Regions from separate parts of the Homo sapiens genome. Here regions 1 and 2 are each linked to region 3. The links are contacts of gene promoters, found by promoter capture Hi-C in blood cells and fetal thymus (Javierre and others, 2016). All regions are on one chromosome and are shown on one strand. The core of a region is centred on a gene start or on the middle of the fragment in contact, and the rest is flanking DNA. Distances in the headings are between cores, read along the strand shown. Region 1 overlaps SLC44A3-AS1 (SLC44A3 antisense RNA 1). Region 2 overlaps ABCA4 (ATP binding cassette subfamily A member 4). Region 3 holds the start of ABCD3 (ATP binding cassette subfamily D member 3).

The links. The method cuts DNA at HindIII sites, captures the fragments that hold promoters and counts their contacts. A CHiCAGO score of 5 or more calls a contact.
Region 1: a contact is called between a fragment that was not itself captured here and the fragment with the promoter of ABCD3 in region 3, in 1 of 17 cell types (monocytes). The highest score is 5.8, in monocytes.
Region 2: a fragment that was not itself captured here is called in contact with the fragment with the promoter of ABCD3 in region 3 in 2 of 17 cell types (fetal thymus and monocytes); the score reaches 10.5 in fetal thymus.

What each region holds. Positions count from the first base shown.
Region 1 is chr1:94,715,423-94,718,176 of GRCh38, forward strand. The region is part of intron 2 of SLC44A3-AS1 (SLC44A3 antisense RNA 1); the gene reads right to left. Among named protein-coding and RNA genes, the nearest start is that of MIR378G, 29 kb to the right of the region's middle. The HindIII fragment of the contact is 9,375 bases long and covers 1-2,754 here.
Region 2 is chr1:94,075,694-94,078,491 of GRCh38, forward strand. It overlaps ABCA4 (ATP binding cassette subfamily A member 4), which reads right to left. Exons shown (of 50, transcript NM_000350.3): 11 at 1,997-2,194. The region is part of intron 1 of LOC124904222 (a long non-coding RNA gene); the gene reads left to right. Among named protein-coding and RNA genes, the nearest start is that of ABCA4, 44 kb to the right of the region's middle. The HindIII fragment of the contact is 702 bases long and covers 1,198-1,899 here.
Region 3 is chr1:94,417,072-94,419,771 of GRCh38, forward strand. It overlaps ABCD3 (ATP binding cassette subfamily D member 3), which reads left to right and starts at 1,318. Exons shown (of 23, transcript NM_002858.4): 1 at 1,318-1,517. The coding sequence starts at 1,408. RefSeq lists enhancers at 507-1,298, 1,770-1,909 and a silencer at 1,060-1,439. The HindIII fragment of the contact is 10,166 bases long and covers 1-2,700 here.

The DNA of each region.
Region 1 (2,754 bases), core at 151-2,650, 300 kb after region 3:
TTTGTCCCCATGGAGACAAGGGAGCTGGGCTTTGTGGCGTTAAACTGTTGGTCTCTGGCTAAGGGATGCCCTAAAAAGATGGAAACTTCCTGGCATGTCTGGGCTCTGCACCTGTGGGCAAAGCAGTGTAGTAACCAGATGGCAGTCTTCCAAAGAGAGTCACGGGTATGGGGCTGTTTGAAGCAAAAGCACCAAAAAGCACTGGCGGAGTTCACAGAAACAGCAAAAATAGATCCAAAGGCCTCTGAGGGAGCAGGAACTGAGCCCACCCAAGACCACCCCTTGCATCACTCAGACCAGCTCACATCTTCCATTCTGTGAACTTCATTCCGCCACTGCGCCTTCAAGAGGGTGGACACTCACAGTTTCTGGGGGAAAACTTAACAAGATAAGAGTTAGTGAGACAAGATACATCTCTTCTCACACAAGTTTATGTAAACCATTCACACAAGTTTCTACAAAAGAATATTAATTGTGCCAGACACAGTGGCTCATGCCTGTAATTCCAGCACTTTGGGAGGCCGAGGAAGGCCGATCACCTTAGGTCAGGAGTTCGAGACCAGCCTAGCCAACGTAGTGAAACTCTGTCGCTACTAAAAATACAAAAATTAGCTGGGCGTGGTGGCACGCCCCTGTAATCCCAGCTACTCAGGAGGCTGAGGTGGGAGAATCGCTTGAATCTGGGAGGTGGAGGTTGCAGTGAGCCAAGATCACACCACTGCACTTCAGCCTGGGTGGCAGAGTGAGACTCCATTTCAAAAAAAAAAGAATATAAAGAATATTAATTGCAACATTAATAATAGCTAAAATGCAAATAAGTCAAACTTATTTGATCTCTAGGGATCAAACTTAGATCTCTAGGGATTTGCTTTTTTCTTTTAACAATTGCATAATATTCTATGGTATGGCTGCATACCATGATTTATTCAACTAAGCCACTGATTTATTATTATTCATTTAACCAAGCCACTACTGATGAAAGTTTGACTTACTTGCATTTGAGCTATTATTAACAATGTTGCAATTAATATTCTTTTACATAAATTTGTGTGAGTGGTTAACATAAACCTTTGCAGTGGTCCCTTGGCTGTGGCTGATATTCATCATCTCCCTGCTCTGCCACTCTTTCTAGAATCCCTCCACTCCCAGCAAGTACTTCTGGCGGTGTAGGTGGCTTGCTTGATGAGGTGATGCAGACTTTTAGCCCTAAAGGGTTTATCTCCCACACTCTAAAAAACATGAATCCTAACAGGTATCCAGAGTTGTCGCCCCTTCCATCTTAACAGGTTCAGTCAACATAAAGTCACCAATATGGTGGACAAAGTACACTGTACTTTCAGTTTCCTAAGAAAGGAAAAAGATGAAATTCCATTAGCCATAGTCAAATGAGCACGCCATCAATACCAAGAAAAACTGTAAACTCGTATTAATTAACCTGTTGTGATTTGGTTAAAAAGAAACCATTAACCAACAGGAGCCAGAGAGGGTTCTCTAAGAACAAGTCAGGCCTAGGGCACATTGAGGATGAGCAAAAGAGAAATTGTAAATCAGTTTATTTTGGTCTTGGTAACAAGTGAAAAAGAATGGTTGAGAGAAATGTAGGTGGAAGAGATAAAAAGGAATGGATAAAGTGTCTATTATTTGTAGATTCCTTTTATACAAACAATTCTTTTCCACTGATAGTTGAAAACTGAGCGTAGTTTTTTCCTGTCTGCTGGGTGGAAATAGATTGTGAAATGTTGTCTTGTGGTTTCTAAAGAGTAAGTAGAAAACTGCATTAAAAATGCAGCACTAATCCATGCGATGTGAGACCTGCCATCAGGAGCTAAACCACCAAGCCAAGGTCCCTCAGAAATTACCTGTGTGGCAGCCAGTTTCTCACATGCTAGCAGAGGAAAGTCTCTCAAATTGCCCTTTAATAAGCAAGAAGAAAAACTGTCTCCCAGATTGGCAGTATTTATTGTTTTTGCTATTACTATAAATATAATATCTGCTTGTAAAATCTCCAAAATATGAAGTAGAATGTGGAAGTCCCTAATAAGTCTAACTTGATCCAGTGACAATATGGTGATAAAACTGTTAGTGGTCTGATATATATATATACATTTTTTCACCTCTTTTGTAGAATAAAAGAATGAAAGGAAGGATGGATGAGCAGATGGATAAAATGCTTTACAATCTGCCTCTTTCACTTAATATATTGCGGACATCTTTCCTTGTAAAAACATAAATCTCTTGGGATTTGCTTTTTTTTCTTTTAACAATTGCATAATATTCCATCATATGGCTGCACCATGATTTTTTTTAACCAAACCAATACTGATGAAAGTTCAAATTATTTGCATTTTAACTATTTTGACAGTGTTGCAATTAATATATATATATATTTTGAGACAGACTTTCACTCTTGTTGTCCAGGCTGGGGTGCAATGGCGTGATCTCGGCTCACTGCAACCACCTCTGCCTCCCAAGTAGCTGGGATTACAGGCATCCACCACCATGCCCGGCTAATTTTGTTATTTTTCGTAGAGACAGCATTTCTCCATGTTGGTCAGGCTGGTCTCGAACTCCCGCCCTCAGGTGATCCGCCCGCCTTGGCCTCCCAAAGTGCTGGCATGAGCCACCGTGCCTGGCCTGCAATTAATATTCTTTTACATAAACGTGGTGTCTTTATCTGATTATTCCTGTAGGACAAATCTCTGCAAGTTCCAGGAATTGCTGGGTCAGAGATCAACCAAATTCTAAATTTGGAAT
Region 2 (2,798 bases), core at 299-2,798, 340 kb before region 3:
CTCACAGAAGCCCCTACCTTCCAACAGTTCTAGATGACACAGACCCAGACCTGGCCCATGGGCAAGAGTGGTCCACCCTTAGATGGAGTCATTTACTGGGAGTATGAGGTTGAGAATTTGAAAATGACTGACATGTGCTCCCTGATTCTAAATAACTCCAGTTTAGCTGCCCAGCCAGAGATGGACATGTCAACAGCCAACTCTAATCTATCTGGGAGAGGGGTCTGAGAGAGGTGTGAAGAGAGGGCCAGGAAGCACAGAGGAGTGAATGACTAAACCTCCATCAAAGCAGAAGTGACATTTAAGAGCTGAGTGCTGAGTCTCAAAGAATGAATGAGTAGAAGCTCAGCAGATGAGGAAAGGGACAGTCATTTCAGGCATTGGTGGACATACACTTTTCTACCTTGTGTTTCTTCTTTTGGGGAAACATCTTCCTCCACTTCACAGTAATCCTGCTCATAGAAATGGCCCCATGGTGGGCAGCTGACCCAGGCCTCCCAATCAGAGTACACAGGGGTGGGTACAGGAGCCAGACCAACAGGGAAACTCTCTAGGAGCATTGCTTCTGCTATGGGAAAGGGATTTTTGGTGTATAGATGACTGCTAAGGGCTGTAAGCAGCTAGGGCATCAGCAGAGGAGAGGGCCTGGCCAGAGATGAAGCTGAGCAGAGGCGAGTAGAAAAGTGAGGTGGAAGGACACAGGGGTCTCATGGTGGCTTCCAACTCTTGGATCCTCCTGAACTTCATTATTTATGTCCACCAATAAATGCTTTCTTTTTGGTTAAGCAAAAAGCTTGTGACCAAAAGCGCTCTAATAAATGGGCAATGAAAACAGCATTTGCAAAGGGTAGAATCCCAAGAGGTCATGGAATGGGAATGCCTGTAGGCGTGAAAGGGCCAGGTAGCAGAGTTGAGCAAGGGCTGGGAAGGTGGGGTAGGACAGATTTGGAAGGGACCTGTGTTATTTGGGGGTCGAGTCATTAAGATTTTAAGTGAGAGAGCAACGTAAGCAGGTGTGCGGAATGTAACTCTGGTGCCAGTGTAGAGAAATGCCTGGGCCAACAGAGGCTGGACCCTGGATTCCAGGAAGGAAGCCCTTGGAATGGGCTGGCGCAGAGATGACAAGGCCTCTAGTCCTCAGAGAGCCTGGAATGCAAGAGGCAGAGTTGAGAGATATTTAGGAGGGAGAGGAGACAAAGCTTGGTAAGAGAAATCAGAAAGGCAGGCTCTGAACTCAGGCACCCCCAGAGCTGGATCCTGTTCGCTCCTCTTAATGGTCATGCGTGGGATCTTATTTAACCTCTTTAAGCCCTGGCTTCTCATCTGCAAATTGGCAATGATAATGGTGCAAGCCTCATGGAGCTGTGAGAATTAAATGAAGCATATGTGTGTAAAAGCAGTTGGCACAGTACTTGGCATAAAGTAACACTCAGTAAGTGACAGCTACTGTGTGGAGGGTGAAGAAGGAAAATTAGGGATGACCCTGAAATCCCTCACTTGAGAATTCGGGCAAATGCTGAGGACGTTAATTAGGATAGGAAATATAGGAGAAGGATATGTTCTATGGGCAAGGAGAACATACAGTTTTTGGAGGGGACATGTTGAGGCTGATGTGCTTGTAGAACTTGAGGGCAGGAGTGTCCAGCAAGCAATGGACTGTGGGGTTGAGGGGACACTGGCCATAGATGGCCACTCAAGCAATGTCAGACAGAAGAGGGTTGAGGACAGACACAGATGCTTAAAGGGGGCTACAGGAGGAGGTGCCCAGCATGAGAAGTAGGAGATGTGAAGAGGAAACCGTTTTCAGCATAGATAAGTTTTAAGTATGGATAAGCTGTTAGAGAATGAGAACTGTACAGGGGATGTAGGGATTCTTGTTTCTTCAGTGGGGAAAATGAAAGCTTAAATTCAAGACCACTTGACTTGCTAAGGGAGCTCTGGCCCCACTCATGGGGCTATCTTCAAGGGGCCCACTGTGGGGCTTGCAGCCCCTTACCTCCAGGTATTGATTGACCAGGCGGAGGGTGCGATCAGTGATGTTAAATATGTCCCTCCAGTCGAAGTTGGCCATGTCGTCAGCCTGGCTTTCCCGAGGGCCCTTGTAGAGGAAGTTTAGGATGGCTTCAGCAGTAATACCTTCTTCACCAAGCTGCCTATTCAAAAAGTCTTTTACTGTTGGGTTCCCCAGGGTATCCTTGGGAAGAAGAAATACAGTCACTGCTCTGCTTAGAAATTCCATAGGATCTTTGGTCTTGTTCTTCAGCCATTTCTAATTTTTAGTGATTGAGGATAGAGATGCTAAGGCTCCCTGAAGAGCTGGTGAGCTTGTTCCACTATGAAACATACCTATCTATATCCCATTTCCCCAAGTCCATGGGTCTCTAGAATAGAGGGAAGATGTGTAGGGGCAAAGGAGGGGCCAGATGGGGGTCATTGAATATGGTGTATAAAAAGCTTTCTTTTGCTTATGGATATTTTTGTTTTCTTTTGAGTGTCCCTGATATATAGAACTCTTGTCTTCATTTTGCAAAGCTGAAAATGAGACCAGACAAACACATTCCACCATCTTTGGAGTTACAGAGCTGGCCCCTTGGGGAGATGCCTCTTTGAATTTGAGGCCCTTGAGTGAATTCATAAAAGTAGGAAACTCCAGGAAGCCACTGGTCTTGTGGCAGCTTTTAGACTTCTCCCAGAATTCAAGAAACATATTTCTCATCCAAAGTCAGTGACCCCACTTGGTGACTGCTTGGAATGAAGGCCTTTGGGGCCTGCTTGTTGTATTTTGATCTAACTCCAAT
Region 3 (2,700 bases), core at 68-2,567:
TTAATTTTTTCTTCTATTAATCTGCCTTATGTCAGCGGTTTTCAGTTAACTTTCAGAGGGCCAAAACCTTTTGTCCCTCCAGGTAATGAAAATGTCCACATGACAAATAGTGAATTAGTAGGAGCTTCAGTTCTGCATAATTTAGAATTCACTGTTGAGCACCTCTATACGCATGCCATTATTGTACCTCGTCTTTGTGATCCTCATAACCTGTATTAGGCAACAGCTCATTTATATTGAGAAAACACCTAGGGCACAGCACCACTACTTTGTAGGCTACTTTAATATGTATGTGCATTATGCGAGGTTTTATGAGCTTATTTTCTGACACACTTGCTTTTCTCCAGTTTCCTCAGCTGAAAACAGCGATTCACTGTTACTGTATATATGCTAGGCTCAATGCTGGCGATAACAATTCCTGCAACATAGGGTCAGACAGGAGAAGAATGTTGTAATCTGCAAAGCCCTTCTGATTCTGGGAGTGAGGCCAGCATTAATACAACGCACGATTGTTACTTCTGAATGTCCCTTTGCAAAGAACAGTGTTTCTCAAACTTTTTTCTGACCAGATCTGCATACATTTTACATCGCCGCTGGCGATACATACGTGCAAAACACTGAAATCGAAATTTCTCTAAACAACTCCTTTACTACGTGATGTACTGTGAAACTTTTCTATTTTGTTCTATTCTCAATTTTATTAAAAACGGAGGGTGATGATCCCGATCTACCAAACCAATTTCACAATGCGCTAGAGATTATAACCCGCGGTTTGGAAAATACTGGCTTGGAAAAAGCTCTTTGATCTGTGTCATTCTCCTCACATCTCCCTACACCTCTGCGGAGTTCCGATTGTTTGGTTTCGTCCTGATAATCACTGTGCTGTGTTTTCCCTACACGCTCTGTGACGGGGCCGTCCGCCTCCTTCCTGGGCTCCTTTAAGAGGGTGGTAACGGTACATCACCGCGGGAGTGGAGAGGCAGGGCCCACTAGGTCGTCGCTGCAGGCCAGGCCCGCTCATCCAGTTATTGTGAAAGCCGGGGTGTGCGCGCGAAGAGTGGGAGGGTAGGGGTGAGGCAGGGGCAGCACTGACGCCTCGCAGGGCTGAGTAGCAACAGCTCCTCCGCGCCGCGTTTCCGGAGACCCTGAAGGAGTCCGCGCGTGCGCAGAGCGCGTCCCGGGAACTGTTCCGCCCACGGAGGCTGCCGAGCGCGCTCCCGCCGGGCCAAAGTACAAAGTGGGCTCCAGAGCGCGGGCGGCGCGGCGGCGCGAGCCAGGGGGCGGTCCTGCGCGGCCGGCCCCGCCCTCTGCTCTCCTCCCAGTCTCCCCCGCGCTGCGTGCAGTAAGGTAGCCGCCGCCGCCGCCGCCGCCGCGTCCCCTCGCCGGCTCGCTGGTACCGGCAGTGCCATGGCGGCCTTCAGCAAGTACTTGACGGCGCGAAACTCCTCGCTGGCTGGTGCCGCGTTCCTGCTGCTCTGCCTGCTCCACAAGCGGCGCCGCGCCCTCGGCCTGCACGGGTAAGAAGGCCCGTAGCCGTGCAGCTTTCCCGGGCTGGAGCGGGCGCTCCCCGCGCGCTCTCTCTCCCCACCCGGCCGACAGGTCTCTTTGCCCGACGGGGTCGGGCGGAGAGAGGGCCGACCGCGACTGCCGTGGGACTTCAATGTCAGGGTGTCCGCGAGTCCCCGCCACGACGGCGTCGGTCCCAGCTGGCCTGTCCGGCGACCTCGCTCCACCCCGGGAGTGCGAATTCTTCTGTGCCCGCGGGCGAACCGGCGCCCAGCCAGCACTCAGGCAGCGGCCTCCAGTTGGGGGTGGGAGGGGGATGCGGTGTGTCCCCCACCCCCTTCCCTACATCACCCCCTTCTGTGTCAACTTTCTGGGTGTGTTCTGGTTTTGCCATCTCATCTTCAGACCGTGAAGGATTTGTTTTGGGGACGTGGATGTGTGATTGAGGATGGGGATTGGATTCGCCAGGCTGGAGGCTGGTGTCTAAGTCACTTGGACGAGGTTTGGCTCGATTCCCGACTAACTGCTATTGAAAGTCGCGAGGGTGGCTTCTATGAAACTATTCCCGGTCCACTTGGCAGGATTGCCGTCTAAAGTGGTGAGCCCTTGGAGTCGGTGAACCCTTTGGTCGGTGAACATTTGGTCGGTGGCATTTCATCCGGAAAGGCTGGATCGGTTCTGTCGGACTTAGAGGGAAATGTTTTCCTTCCTGGGCTCTGTAGGTGAAAGATGAGAGTGTGGTTTAGGTGAGGATCAAGCTCCTTTTTAATGACACGCCACTGCTTCCACCGCGGGAGAATTTCAGTGCTTAGATTTAACTTTGGGAGGTTATCAGTTCAGAAAAAGTAAAAAAGAGAGAGCTGAATTACGGTTGCGACATACAGGTATGTATGTCACATACATGCAATTTTTATTTGCTGGACAAGTGAAAGAGAAAAGGCTACTTCCCAAGCGTTCTTGCCAGTCATTGAATATTTCGTATTAAATCTTGACATACTACTTTCATGAATTTTATTTCATTCATTCCTCTGAGCAGGTACTGTTGCCTCCCGTGTTTGATTTGCCTACAATATCTAATTAGTAGTAAAATTTGGGCTAAAACACAAATAGACTTCTAGTTTATAGTACCCTTTCCATTAAGTTCTTTCTAGCCGCCTTCTGTTTTTATCTTACTAGAGTCTGAAGTGATGATCT